Linked DNA regions of Homo sapiens: all the other regions are linked to region 4. The links are contacts of gene promoters, found by promoter capture Hi-C in human tissues and cell types (Jung and others, 2019). All regions are on one chromosome and are shown on one strand. The core of a region is centred on a gene start or on the middle of the fragment in contact, and the rest is flanking DNA. Distances in the headings are between cores, read along the strand shown.

Region 1 (3,533 bases), core at 668-3,167, 190 kb after region 4:
ACCCCACCACCCATCTTCAGGAAAGGCAGATCAAAACCCAGTAAGATATTACCTCCTACCCACTGAAATGGCTACTATCAAAAAAAAACAGAGAACAGAGTAATGGTGAGGACGTGGAGAAACTGGAAGCCCCCACACCACTGGTGGGAAAGTAAAATGGCACAGCCACTGTGGAAGACAGCTTGGCGGCTCCTCAAAACATGAAACATACAACCACCAGGTCATCAGCAACTCCACTGCCAGCGGCTCCGCAAAAGATGAAACACACAACCACCAGGTCATCAGCAACTCCGCTGCCAGCGGTTCCTCAAAAGATGAAACATACAACCACCAGGTCATCAGAAACTCCGCTGCCAGCGGTTCCTCAAAAGATGAAACACACAACCACCAGGTCATCAGCAACTCCACTGCCAGCGGTTCCTCAAAAGATGAAACACACAACCACCACGTCATCAGAAACTCCGCTGCCAGCAGTTCCACAAAAGATGAAACACACAACCACCAGGTCATCAGCAACTCCACTGCCAGGCACATGCGAAAGAGCTGAAAGCAGGGTCTGAAGAGATTTTTACGCCCACGTTCACAGCAGCTCTATTCACAATTGCCTAGAGGTGGAAACCACCCAAGTGTCCACCCACAGATGAGGGAAACACCCAATGCAGCTGCTCCACACTAACAAATATTGGTCAATCTTTTTTTTTTTTTTTGGAGACGGAGTCTCGTTCTGTTGCCCAGGCTGGAGTGCAGTGGTGTGATCTTGGCTCACTGCAACCTCCACCTACTGGGTTCAAGCGATTCTCCTGCTTTGGCCTCCCAAATAGCTGGAATTAGAGGTGTGCTCTACCACCCCCAGCTAATTTTGTATTTTTAGTAGAGACAGGGTTTCACCATGTTGAGCAGTCTGGTCTCGAACTCCTAACCTTGAGTGATCCACCCACCTCGGCCTCCCAAAGTGCTATGATTACAGGCATCAGCCACCGCACCTATTATTCAGTCTTAAAAAGACAGAAGGCCAGGTGCAGTGACTCACGCCTGTAATCCCAGCACTTTGGGAGGCCGAGGAGGGCAGATCACGAGGTCAGGAGATCGGGACCATCCTGGCTAACACAGTGAAACTCCGTCTCTACCAAAAACTACAAAAATTACCTGGGCGTGGTGGCGGGCGCCTGTAGTTCCAACTACTCAGGAGGCTGAGGCAGGAGAATGGCGTGAACCCAGGAGGCAGAGCTTGCAGTGAGCCGAGATGGTGCCACTGCACTCCAGCCTGGGTGACAGAGCAAGACTCCATCTCAAAAAAAAAAAAAAAAAGTATTCCACCACAATTTTAAAAAATTAGGGGGAGCACAGCCAAGGAGATCAGACCCAAAAAATGGACTGGGATGCTTGTTCACTGAGGGATAAATCAGAAGCCCAAAGTAGGGGCCGGGTGTGGTGGCTCACACCTGTAATCCCAGCACTCTGGGAGGCTGAGGTGAGCGGATCACCTGAGGTCAGGGGTTCGAGACCAGCCTGGCCAACATGATGAAACCCCATGTCTGCTAAAAATACAAAAATGAGTTGGGGGTGGTGGCAGATGCCTGTAATCGCAGCTACTCGGGAGTCTGAGACAGAAGAATAGCTTGAACCCAGGTGGAGGTTCCAACGAGCCGAGATCTCACCATTGCACTCCAGCCCGGGTGACAGAGCGAGACACTGTCTCAAAAAAAAAAAAAAAAGAAATAAAGAAACCCAAAGTGGGACACAGTTTAAAGAAGATGCTACTTACTCCTCTGTGGACAGAACTTTGTGTCCTGATGATCCAACACAGGCCCACGAGAGATAAAAACATCCCATGAAGAAGTACAGCTCCAGTTGTAGTGTATGTGCTGTGGAGCCGGGCAGGCGTACACAAAGCACTGATCTCTAAAATGTGAGCAAGGTGTGTTCCCAGTGCATTTTGCTGTCATTTGGTCACAAATCTCAATGTGTCCACTAAGCGATTAAATGATTAATCTCTATATCACAACGTGTCGGAGATAAAGCTAAGAGAGGCCTGAGCAGTGGCTCATGCCTGTCATCCCCATACTCTGGGAGGCTGAGGTGGAAGGATTGCTTGAGCCTAGTATTTGAGACCAGCCTGAGCAATATAGTGAGATCCCATCTCTACAAGTAATTTAAAAAAGAAAGATGAGCTCTTGCAATGTTGCCCAGGCTGGTCTCTAACTCCTGGGCTCAAGTGATCCTCCCCATTCAGCTTCCCAAAGTGCTAGGATTCCAGGTATGAGCTACCATGCCCAGCCACCGACTTTTTTCTAAGAAAAGAATTTTCTAATTGTGACACAATTCACATAACATAAAATACTCCCATTTAATGTGTACAATTCACTGGTTTGCAGTATATTCACAAAGTTGTGTAAGCATCACCACTAGCTAGTTCTAGAACATTCCATCACCCCAAAGAGGAAATCCTGTACTCACTAGCTATCACTCTCCACCCCCAGTCCAGGCAACGAGGAATCAATCTACTTTCCGTCTCTGTGGATCTGTGGCCTTCTGTGCTCCCTTCTGTCACTCAGCACGTCTTTAAGGCTCGTCCACATTGTGGCATGAGTCACAATCTACTTTCTGTCTCTGTGGATCTGTGGCCTTCCGTGCTCCCTTCTGTCACTCAGCACGTCTTCAAGGCTCGTCCACGTTGCGGCGTGAGTCACAATCTGCTTTCTGTCTCTGTGGACCTGTGGCCTTCTGTGCTCCCTTCTGTCACTCAGCACGTCTTCAAAGTTTGTCCACATTGTGGCATGAGCCAGTGCTTCATTCCCTTTATGGCCAAGTAGCATTCCACTGCATGGACAGGCCACACTTGTTTATCCATTCCTCACTTTTTGGGTACCTGGGTTGTTTCTCTTTGGTTACTGGAAATTATGCTGCTGTGAACATTAATGCACAAGCTTTCACATAAATGCACACGTCCGTTTCTCTTGGCTGCATACCTGCAGTGGAACTGCTGGGTCATACAGTGGGTACCCGGGAGCTTCTGAGGAACTGTTTCCTAAAGCAGCTGCACCGTTTTACCCTCTCACGAGCAGTGAATGAGGGCTCCAACATCTCCATATCCTTGCCAACACAACAAACTTCATTTTGTTTTTAAAATAACTTGTTGTTATTGGAGAGATCATAAACTGAAGAATTTCAATTTCATATAAACTGCAGGTAGGCAGAAACATTTAAGTCCAAATTTCTCATAACAAAGCAGCAGCAGAAGACATGATCTAGAAAACGGTAAGAATCAGCCACTTCCTCTGTACCGTATCACCTCACTCTACAGAATAAAAACACTTCTGAAATGAGTTATTGATAACACCTGATTAAGCCGCAAAAATGCTGCCTTATCTAGCTTCTGACTTTTTTTTTTTCAAGAGACTGAGTCTCACTGTCGCCCAGGCTGGAGTACAGTGGCACGATCATGGCACAACTGCAGCCTCAACTTCCCAGGCTCAAGTGATCTGCCCCTGTCAGCCCCCACCCCCCACGTAGCTGGGACTACACATGCGTGC
Region 2 (3,535 bases), core at 372-2,871, 150 kb after region 4:
ATGCCCAGACCCCAAGGGTAGTGTTGGGGGAGGCATATAAATAACAATAAATACACATAAATAGGGGGTGCCCTCTGGGGAGCACACGTGTCCAGTCTAGGGGCCCCACGGCCTCGGCGGTCACACTGAACGGGGCAGCACGCAGGTGCAGCCGACGGGGACGTGGATGAACTCGGTGTGGAAGGCAAAGGCCCCAGGTGTGGGGAGCCCCGAGCCGTCGCGGGAGCAGGGCCGGCGGCGCAGCACCAGCAGGCTCTGGAGCAGCCGCACGGAGTTGAGCGCAGCTGTCTCGCGGCCCGTCCGTGCATCGATACAGCCTCTGCACAGGCACTCGGCGAAGGCCAGCTTCTGTGGATAGCGGTCCTCATCCGTGTCCACACTGCGGGACGGGGTGCACAGTGAGTCTCTGGCCCTACCCTGTCCTCCTGGAGGCCCCTCTCCCCTCAGGGCCCCTCTCCGTGTACTCAGGATAGGACCTGAGGCAGCGAGGGCTGAGCCACACGGGCTTGGGGTGCAGTCGGGCTCACATGTGGTGGTAATCCACGTCTCCCCAGGGCCCTCCAAGAGCACAGAGCAGGGTCCGGAGGCCTCTAGGAGCCTCCCTTCCACTTCATCACCCAGCCCCACTTCTGCAGGAGCTCAGGTGACGGGCCCAGAATTTCCCCAGGGGACCCTGGCCACCTAGGACAGTGGGAGGCAGGGCACGGCCAGCCGCAAGCAGCAGCTCAGCCGTCCAGGTCAGGAGGGCCGGAGGGAGGGAGCTCAGGTGGCCACGCCCACTTGACAGGTGAGAACCACCAAGGCCCAGAGAGCTCTCCGGGCAGTCAGGGCCCCGCCAGGGGAGGGGCAGCCCCACGCCACAGCGGAATCCCCAGGTCCTCACCGGTATCTCCAGGGTGAGATGGAGCGCTGGTGGGTGTCTGCCTCCAACACCTCCTCCGGCCGCAGCACCGGGCACTGGGTCGTAGCTGAGGGCCTCTCGTGCCTCCCCCTGTGGCTTGCTGCCTCCAGGCTGGACACCAGGGCTACAGGCAAAGCCTGCCCCCACTTGGCACCTCGAGCCAGCAGGTGTGGGGGGGCCTGGCCGAGGGGCAGTTCCTCAGCCGAGTAGCAGTGTGGGGTACCGTGACTGTGGGGGTGCCCCCTGAGGGAGGGGTCATGGTGGGCCAGGCATGTGTGCAGCCAGGTCAGAAACAGGAGGCCGGGGAGGAGCTGGTGAAACAGGCAGGTGGGTGGTTAGGAGGTGCCCAGGGCAGGGGGCACCTCACTTCCACCTCAGCTTTCCTTGTTCCCAGCGGAAAGATGGAGTACAGCCCTCCCTCTATAGATGGGGAAACTGAAGCCCAGAGAGGCTAGCCCTTCAGCCCAAGACACCCAGCATGCCAGCGCTCCGAGGATCTGCAGCTGCCTCCCCTACCCCCAGACTGAGGGGTTTCCCAGACCCCATCCCAACACCCTCCTCCCAGGCTCAGAGAACCCCAGCCCTTCCATGCCAGGCTGCACATCCAAGCAGCATCCATCCGAGCGGCATGTGGAGAGGCTCACCGTCATGGTGGCGGCAGCGGGGCAGGCTGGGCTTGGAGCGGCCTGCACACCTGGCGGCAATCCCACAGGTGCACCTGGCCATGCACCTGGCAGCAGCCGCTCTTATACCTGAGGCCACACCTGGGGGAAATTCCGGCACCACTTCCTCCTCGGGAAGTGCCCAGCTGGGGCGCTTCTTCCTTCTCTGGTCCCCGCAGCCCCCGCCTGCTGTGCATCAGGACACAGACATGCAAGGAGGCCCCGGGAGGCGCTGTCCTGTTACCCCCCTCCCCCGAGAGAGACTCCGCCCAACCTGAGCACCTACACAGGGTGCTGCCTTGTCTGACATTCTCAAACTTTTTTTTTTTTTTTGAGACAGGGTCTTGCTGTCACCCGAGCTGGAGGGAAATGGTGCTGTCCCAGCTCACTGCAACCTCCACATCCCAGGTTCAAGCGATTCTCCTGCCTCAGGCTTCCGAGTAGCTGGGATTACAGGCACCCCCCACCATGCCTGGCTAATTTTTGTATTTTTAGTACAGACAGGGTTTTGCCATATCGGCCAGGCTGGTCTGAGGCTCCTGACCTCAAGTGATCTGCTCGCCTTGGCCTCCCAAAGTGCTGGGATTACAGGAGTGAGCCACTGCGCCCAGCCTTGAACCTCCTATAAGAGGGTTTCTGCTTGCGTATCCGTCAGCACCTTGCTGATTCAACTTGTAGGTTTTCATCTGGACCTGATGGTGGCGGGGCGCTTTTGCACCCTATACAGTTCTTCTCCGTCTGCTGCTGGTGGGTGCCAAGGGTGGTTCAGTGTTTTAGCTGAGATGGTCAAGATCAGGTGAGGCTCACGTGCCCCCTTCACCCAGGTGGGAGAGGTCCCGGAGATGGGGGAGGCAGGCACGTCTTCAGGTCTCTGTTGGGTTTCTGTGTTGTTTTTTTTTTTGTTGTTTTTTTGAGGCGGAGTCTGACTCTGTCGCCCAGGCGGGGAGTACAGTGGTGCGATCTCGGCTCACTACAAGCTCAGCTTCCTGGGTTCACGCCATTCTCCTGCCTCAGCCTGCCGGGTAGCTGGGACTACAGGCGCCCGCCACCACACCTGGCTAATTTTTTTGTATTTTTAGTAGAGACGGGGTTTCACCATGTTAGCCAGGATGGTCTCGATCTCCTGACCTCGTGATCTGCCCACCTCGGCCTCGCAAAGTGCTGGGATCACAGGCATGAGTCACTGCACCCGGCCTGGGCTTCTGTGGTTTTATTGAGAAAAAAGTTCAAGCTAAAAAGTCTGAGTTGGAGGTGTGAGGAGTGAGGTGTGAGGTGTGAATGAGGCATGAGGCGTGAGGCGTGAGGTGTGAGGTGTGACCAGCACACACAGGAAGCTTTATGTAAGCGGGGCCGGGAGCTGCCTTTGGCCTCCTTGATCGGTGAGGCTGGCTGGGGGTGGGGGCGCTGGAGGTGCCTTTGTTTCCCCGGAAAGGGACAGCTGCAGCCAGAACTTGGGAAGGTTTGAATGCCGGGGGTTTGACGTCATCCTGAGGAGGGTTGTCCTGGAGTCCCCAGGGCCCCTGGCCACATCAGAGGTGGGGGAATCTGTCCGCCCTGGTCCCCTCAGCTTCGGGGTGAGGGCGGGAGGGAGGGTGCTTGTGTGCCCCCAGCCTTTCCTCCCCTGCCGCGGTGCAGATGTGTTCCACGGAGGTGTCCTCTAAGCTGAAAACCTCAGTCTCTCTGAACACAAAAGCTCCCAAGTCGGGTGGGGCTGAGGCAGCACTGGGACCCCTGGGCCCTCCAGCACCTCCTCTTGGCCGCTGTGTGGCTCTCAGCTTGTCTGCTGTGGGCCTCTGGGGGTGAAGGAGGCTGTGCCCCAGGGTTAACAGTCTGGGAGGAATCAAAGACAGATTGCTGGAGTCCCCAGGGCTGCTCCTCCCGACAGTGCCCCTGCCCACCCACCCTCTGCTTGCATACCTCCTGTGACGGGGAGCTCACTATCCGTGCTGGTTTCCTAGGGCTGTGCTAACCA
Region 3 (3,416 bases), core at 843-3,342, 160 kb after region 4:
GTTTTCCGACGCCTTCGAGCCCGGCTCGGGGAGACCGACACCCCGAGTTTCTTCTTGGGAGACTTGGATCGGCGCCAAGGGTCCTTCCACTCATCTGCTCTCTTCACCTGCGGCCCCGTGGTGGCAGCCTCCTTCTTTGGTGGCTCAGCTTGGCGGCTGAAATTACAGAGGCATTAGCAACTCTCAGGCCACCTTCCGCTTCACAGCAATGCCAGGTGTGACAGCAGCGGGAGAGACTATGGATCTCATACCTGGCTTATTTAAGGATCACCTGAGAAACAAAGGGTCCTAAGGGGAAAAAAGGCCACTCACAAAACCCATCACCCCATGGACTTGGGTGATGTCCATGGCCCTTGGCTCAGTGTCTGTTACTCAGGGGAACACCCAGATTTCTCCTGAACCAGAATGGCAGTTACTTTCTGTGAGTGTCATTACTTACTTAATTTCCATCTTTCCAACTACGCTGTCAGCTCTAGGAGGGACAGGGATGGTGTCTGCCGTGTCTAATACTATCTCTAGTGCTGATATACTAGTAGGTTCATAATAAATATTTATGAAATAAGCCCAGGTATGGTGGCACACGCCTGCAATCCCAGCACTTTGCGAGGACGAGGCGGGTGGATTACTTGAGGTCGGGAGTTCCAGATCAGCCTGGCCAATATGGTGAAACCTGTCTCTATTAAAAATACAAAAATTAGGCTGGGCGCGATGGCTCATGCCTGTAATCCCAGCACTTTGGGAGGCTGAGGTGGGCGGATCATGAGGTCAGGAGTTCGAGACCAGCCTGGCCAACATGGTGAAACTCCATGTCTACTAAGAATACAAAAATTAGGCCGGCTGCGGTGGCTCACCTGTAATCCCAGCACTTTGGGAGGCCGAGGCGGGCGAATCACGAGGTCAAGAGATCGAGACCATCCTGGCTAACATGGTGAAACCCCATCTCTACTAAAAATATATAAAATTAGCCAGGCGTGGTGGCAGGCGCCTGTAGTCCCAGCTACTTGGGGGGCTGAGGCAGAAGAATGGCGTGAACCCGGGAGGTGGAGCTTGCAGTGAGCCGAGATCGCGCCATTGCACTCCAGCCTGGGCGACAGAGCGAGACTCTGTCTCAAAAAAAAAAAAATAAAAACAAAAACAAAAATTAGTTGGATGTGGTGGCGGGCGCCTGTAATCCCAGCTACTTGGGAAGCTGAGGCAGGAGAATTGCTTGAAACTGGGAGGCGGAGGTTGTAGTGAGCTGAGACTGCGCCACTGCCCTCCAATCTGGGCGACAGAGCAAGACTTCGTCTCAAAACAAAACAAAACAAAAAACAAAAAAATTAGCTGGGTGTGGTAACACGTGCCTGTAATCCCAGCTACTGGGGAGCCTGAGGGCAGGAGAATGGTTTGAACCCAGGAGGCAGAGATTGCAGTGAGCTGAGACTGCGCCACTGCACTCCAAACTGGGCAACAGAGTGAGACTCCATTATAAAAAACAAACAAAAAAACCCAAACACAAATGATATTAAACTGACCCCTTATATATAAATCTTTATCTGACTTTTTAAAGGGTAAACTCCTGAGCAATGGAATTAATGGGTCAAAGGAGATACACATTTTACAGGTTCTTGGTGGGTTATCAGATATTTTTTCCTCATTCAGCCAGCAGTGTGCGGTGCCGAACCTGGGCTCGGTGTCACCACTAAGAACCACAACCACCACCCAGACACAAACTAACCCAAAATCCTGGCAATTGTATAAGCAGAACGTGGCTTTTTTTTTTTTTTTCTTTTTTAGAGACAGGGTCTTGCTCTGTTACCCATGTGGGCTGGAGTGTGGTGGCATAATCACTGCAGCCTTGAGCTTCCAGGCTGAAGGGATCCTCCCACCTCAGCCTCTTGAGTAGCCAGGACTGCAGGTGTGCACCACCACACCCAGGTCATTAAACATTGATTTGAGGTCTCCCTATGTTGCCCAGGCTGGTCTCGAATTTCTGGCCTCAAGTGATCCTCCCACCCTGGCCTCCCAGAGTGCTGGGGTTATAAGCTTGAGCCGCCATGCCTGGCCTGCAAACACATTTTAAAAAGCTGTTTTAGTTCCTGTGTTACTGTGAGTGGGATTCTCTGCCCTACGTCTTGCTCACCTCTGGCTCTGCTGTGGTAGCATCTGCTTACGTCACACGACAACACATGAAACCACCAAAACCATCAATGTTTATGTTTTCAGAGCTTGTTTAACCAACCGGCTGGCAAACATGCCTGCTATCTGCTGAGAATGCAGGATGGGGGCAGCTCCCCACTTAACACTGTCCTAAGGACACGGACACGCGACATCACAGCTTCAGCTCCTGTACGTCAGCCCAAAACCCCAAGAGCTATTGCCACATCTGGGTGTCTCCTGGAAAAGTAATCCAGGAAGGAAGTAAACACCTGTCTGATGATCCTCCCTGTCACAGGCTACTAGAGAGCTACTTTCACCTTTATACTTCCTGTATAACTCTCATCCTAACACCCCAAGAGGAAAGGGAGCACCAATAAGTCACAGGGACAGCGCGGCCCTTCCAACACAGGGAGAGGGAACGGGCAGAAGTCAAGGCGTGGTCAGGACCACCTCTTCTTCGGGTGAAGCTGTAACAGCATGTGGAGTCCTAGCTGCGGTGAGGGGGAAGGAAAAACAGCGTCTGCTTGCCCCCTGCCACGGCATGGAAATAAAACCAGCTGAGGTCCAGAGAGGCGGGCAGTGCAGGCCTCCACAATCTCAGGGCAGCTGGTGCTTGCCCCCCAGAAAGAGCTGCTCATTCCCTCTGGAGACAATGATACCGAATTTCAAAATGAAGATGGCCAGAGGCAGGCCCAGCAGGGGTCAGTGAGGTCTCTCCTTCTCTGGGCCAGGGCTGTGGACGGGCCTGCACCATCTCGTCACTGCACAGCGCGCCCTCCGCTGCCGCCGGCCGCACCACCTTCCTTCTGAAGCAGCTGCTTCCAGGCCCATGGAGCAAGGAGGTCCTATCCAGCAAGTCCATGTTACCACGTGTGGGACGTGGTGGTACTGATTTTAACCAGGATGCAGATAACCATTTTTTTCCTTTTTTCTTTTTTTTGAGACAGAGCCTCGCTCTGTTGCCCAGGCTGGAGTACGGTGGTGCGATCTTGGCTCACTGCAAGCTCTGCCTCATGCCATTCTCCTGCCTCAGCCTCCCATTGGACATTATCTCCACTGCACTTTGATAGCGAGTCTCCGGGCACCAAGTCTGCGGCAGAAAGCAAGGCTGAGCACTGGCTTTCTACAGCCCAGGGAACCGAGGCATGTGCCCTTCTCTCAGCAAAGAATGTCACCCCAGGGGACATCCTGATTAGACTTGGAAAAACCAGGCAGATACAAAATAAACAAAACCAAAACACACAACATGGGTGCCCCAGGACAGCCCACCGAGTGCG
Region 4 (3,416 bases), core at 272-2,771:
AGGCTGGAGTGCAATGGCATGATCTCGGCTCACGGCAACCTCTGCCTCCCAGGTTCAAGCGATTTTCCTGCCTCGGCCTCCTGAGTAGTTGGGAATACAGGCGCCTGCCATCACGCCCGGCTAATTTTTGTATATTTATTTATTTATTTATTTATTTATTTATTTATTTATTGAGACGGAGTCTGGCTCTGTCGCCCAGGCTGGAGTGCAGTGGCGCTATCTCGGCTCACTGCAAGCTCCGCCTCCTGGGTTGATGCCATTCTCCTGCCTCAGCCTCCCGAGTAGTTGGGACTACAGGAGCCCGCCACCACGCCCGGCTAATTTTTTATGTTTTTAGTAGAGATGGGTTTTCACCGTGTTAGCCAGGATGGTCTCGATCTCCTGACCTGGTGATCCACCCGCCTCGGCCTCCCAAAGTGCTGGGATTACAGGCGTGAGCCACCGCGCCCGGCCTAATTTTTGTATTTTTAGTAGAGACGGGGTTTCACCATGTTGGCCAGGCTGGTCTCGAACTCCTGACGTCAAGTGATCCCCCGACCCCCTACCCCCTTGCCTCAGCCCCGCAAAGTGCTGGGATTACAGGCCTGAGCCACTGCCCCGCCATCTTTTTTTTTTTTTTTTTTTTTTGAGCTGGAGGGTGTGGGCTTGTGCTGGGCTCTCATGAGTTGCCAGTGCCTTGAGGCTCAGTGGCCACAGTCCCCCCAGCCCCACTCCCTGCCTTACGCAGCTGAGTTTGAGAGCCATGAACTGAGCCCAATTAAACGGTGTAGAGCCCTTTGCCCTCTTTCTGTGCCCATCTCAAGGGCAGACGAAGGCCAAACTGACGTGGCCTGGGTGAGGGTCCCGAACACCCTGGACTCAGACCCTACCTCTCCGTGGCAGGGCGCCGCGGCAGCAGGTGCACAGGCCGTGGCTCTCACTCTCACCGTCTCACGCCAGAGCGACCCGGGCAAAGCCGCGCGCGGTGGCCGGCGTGGCTGGGAGCAGCCCCCGAGCCCCCGTCAGACCAACGCGGATCGCGGCACTGCTGCGACCCGAGCATCCCGCGTGCTCCCTCCGGGACCACTAGGCCCGGCCGCCGCGGGAACTCCGAGCCTCCCCACGGTCCCCAGGGGGCGCTGCGTGCTCGCGCCTCGGGGAGCAAAGCGAAAGTCGCTCGGGCACGCGGGGTGCAGTTGCGCGTGGGGCGCTGCCTGGGGGAGCCAGAGGCCCCGGGACCCCTTATGTAGCGCCCGGGCCCCAGCCGCAGCCCACCCAGCGAGAAGCGCCCCTGCCCACCGCCGCGCACGCTCGGAGCCGCGGGGCCAAGACTGCGGGAGGGGAGGGGTCCGCTCCGGGCCAGCGCCAGTCGGGGGTCTCCAGGCCCCAACGCACCAGGGCGGGCCGGAGGCGGGACGGGCCGCGCGGGACAGCGGAGGGGGTGCCTGGGCGCGCCGGGCCGTCGGGGAAGCGCGGAGGCGGGCACGCCGGGGAGGGCGGGAGGGGGCCGAGCTTATAAAGGCCCGCGGGCGGAGGAGGGCGGGAGCCGCCGTCCGGCCCAGCTCGGCCCCAGTGAGCCGAGCGCTGCGCTCCGCCGAGGGGCAGGGCGGTCGCCTGAGCGAGCGCGGGCCCGGGACGTCGGCACCGGCGGGGCGGCCGAAGGAGAAGGAGGAAGAGGAGAAGGCGGCGCGCGGGTCCCCGCGGGTCAGCCATGGCGCGCCGGCCCCGGGGCCCCCGCACCGCCCCATAGCGCCGCGGCGTCCGCTCGGTCTGGGCCGGGCCCTGGGCCCTCCAGCCATGGAGCCGCACGTGCTCGGCGCGGTCCTGTACTGGCTGCTGCTGCCCTGCGCGCTGCTGGCTGGTGAGTGGGGGGCGGGCGCCTGGGGGCGACGGGAGGGGGCTGCGTCTCGGCTCCCCACGGCCTGGACACCGGACGACGCCGGCCGGGGCGAGGGCTGCGGGCGAGCGGGCGCGGAAATTCCCAGGGACGCGCGACCCGGGCGCCCGCATTCCTGAAGCATGAGCGCGCCAGGCGGCGGCGGGGCTCCTGTCCCAGGGCCGGGCTGGAAGGGCGGCGGCGGCTGGGGGAGACGGCACCGCGTGCCCACGGGGGCGGTCGAGCGAGCGCCGGGCATAGCGCGGCTGGCGTCTCCGCCGGGGCGCTGCGGAGAGGAGGCCGCCGGGCGAGGCGGTGTTTGCCCCGGTGGGAAGGGCCGCGGCGGTGGTGGGGGGAGCACGAATCTCTTTTTCTCTTTCGGGTTTAAAAAAAAAAGCGCAAAGTTGCATCAGGACTTCCTGACAATCTGGGAGAAGGCGGGCTTCCTGCCTGGAGCTGTTTAATTTGGAGCTTCCCGAGCCCAACGAACGTCCGTGCCCAGGGCCCAGCCCCGCTCACCGCTGCACCCCCCTCTGCCGGACTGAGGCGGTCCCACACTTTGGAAAAAAATAGTGTGGGTTCCTCCCTGGTCCTCCCTTGCCCTACTGGGCTCAGTTTCGCAGGGGCGGGGGCCGGCCTCTGCCCTGGTCTGGGGGAGGGGACACCCCCGGAGGCTGTGGCCTGGTGTCAGGGCGGGGCAGGGGTCCCCAGTCCTGGCATCTGTGTTCCCTGCTTGCCGGGCAGTGGTGCCCCTTTCGCGAAGCACACCCGGGTGGCTTGGTGCTGCACGGCCTGGCACCCCTACCCTTCCCCGACCCTGGCCTAGCCGGGACCCAGGGTCCGCGCCCTCCGCCCGGGGGCTCCCCACGTGTGATTGATCTGGGAAGCAGTCGGATGGAATTAACCCACGGACAAGTGGGACGGTTTGCATTGGGAGTCCGCCATGGACACGGCAGGTGGGGCCTTTTGATTGTAAAAGCCCTTTCGGAGCCCTTGCCTCGCTCCAGGTGGGAGCTCGCCCAGCGCTAGCTTTGGGGATCTAGAGCCGCCTGCCTGAGGCTCCCAGACAGACTGCGTTTTGATCGGTCGCACAGAAAGGTGGTGAAACTTGGGGAAGATTTTCTAGACAGGAATCAATGAAAACCATTGAGGCTGGAGAGGAGAGGTTTTGAGCAACTCTCTTCAGTGCGGTCAGCCCTGTGTGGACTGGGCAGCCTGGGACCTGCTCCCAGTGCAGGGTCAGATGGGCCGTAAACAGGGCCCGGCTGTGTTCCTTCCTGTGCCTTGAAAACAAGCAGGACAGCCTGGCACAGAGGCAGAGTCTAGAGCTGACAGGCCTTAGAGAGGGAAACAGGAAAGCTTCTGAAACGTCCCGTTCACACTGATCGTTCCATTTCCTCTTGTGTCTGAGTGGGAGCGGGTGTCCTCCCTGCAGGGAATGCCCCCCCTCTCAGATGGCAGCTGCTCCTTGGGCAGAGTTGGCAATGTTTTTCTTTAAATGACCAGATGGTAAATATTTTCATGTCACAAAATCTTCTTCTTCTGGTATTTTTCCAGCCAT

The links. Contacts are between HindIII fragments. The study calls those that stand out against the background at their distance.
Region 1: a fragment that was not itself captured here is called in contact with the fragment with the promoter of PIEZO1 in region 4 in 1 of the 25 tissues and cell types used here (lymphoblastoid cells).
Region 2: a contact is called between the fragment with the promoter of IL17C here and the fragment with the promoter of PIEZO1 in region 4, in 5 of the 25 tissues and cell types used here (liver, lymphoblastoid cells, mesenchymal stem cells and 2 more).
Region 3: a contact is called between a fragment that was not itself captured here and the fragment with the promoter of PIEZO1 in region 4, in 3 of the 25 tissues and cell types used here (lymphoblastoid cells, spleen and thymus).

The regions. Positions count from the first base shown.
Region 1 is chr16:88,588,747-88,592,279 of GRCh38, reverse strand. The region is part of intron 3 of ZC3H18 (zinc finger CCCH-type containing 18); the gene reads right to left. Among named protein-coding and RNA genes, the nearest start is that of ZC3H18, 20 kb to the right of the region's middle. RefSeq lists enhancers at 320-569, 2,465-2,759. The HindIII fragment of the contact is 7,017 bases long and covers 1-3,533 here.
Region 2 is chr16:88,636,658-88,640,192 of GRCh38, reverse strand. IL17C (interleukin 17C) reads right to left here and starts at 1,621. Exons shown (of 3, transcript NM_013278.4): 1 at 1,546-1,621; 2 at 884-1,212; 3 at 1-379. The coding sequence starts at 1,551. The coding sequence ends at 121. LOC124903755 (a long non-coding RNA gene) reads right to left here. Exons shown (of 2, transcript XR_007065181.1): 1 at 3,481-3,535; 2 at 2,759-3,393. The HindIII fragment of the contact is 16,303 bases long and covers 1-3,535 here.
Region 3 is chr16:88,618,937-88,622,352 of GRCh38, reverse strand. ZC3H18 (zinc finger CCCH-type containing 18) reads right to left here. Exons shown (of 18, transcript NM_144604.4): 9 at 1-156. Among named protein-coding and RNA genes, the nearest start is that of IL17C, 18 kb to the left of the region's middle. The HindIII fragment of the contact is 5,227 bases long and covers 1-3,416 here.
Region 4 is chr16:88,783,325-88,786,740 of GRCh38, reverse strand. PIEZO1 (piezo type mechanosensitive ion channel component 1 (Er blood group)) reads left to right here and starts at 1,521. Exons shown (of 51, transcript NM_001142864.4): 1 at 1,521-1,840. The coding sequence starts at 1,777. RefSeq lists silencers at 1,023-1,352, 1,393-1,872, 2,373-2,692 and an enhancer at 1,377-2,290. The HindIII fragment of the contact is 3,328 bases long and covers 1,328-3,416 here.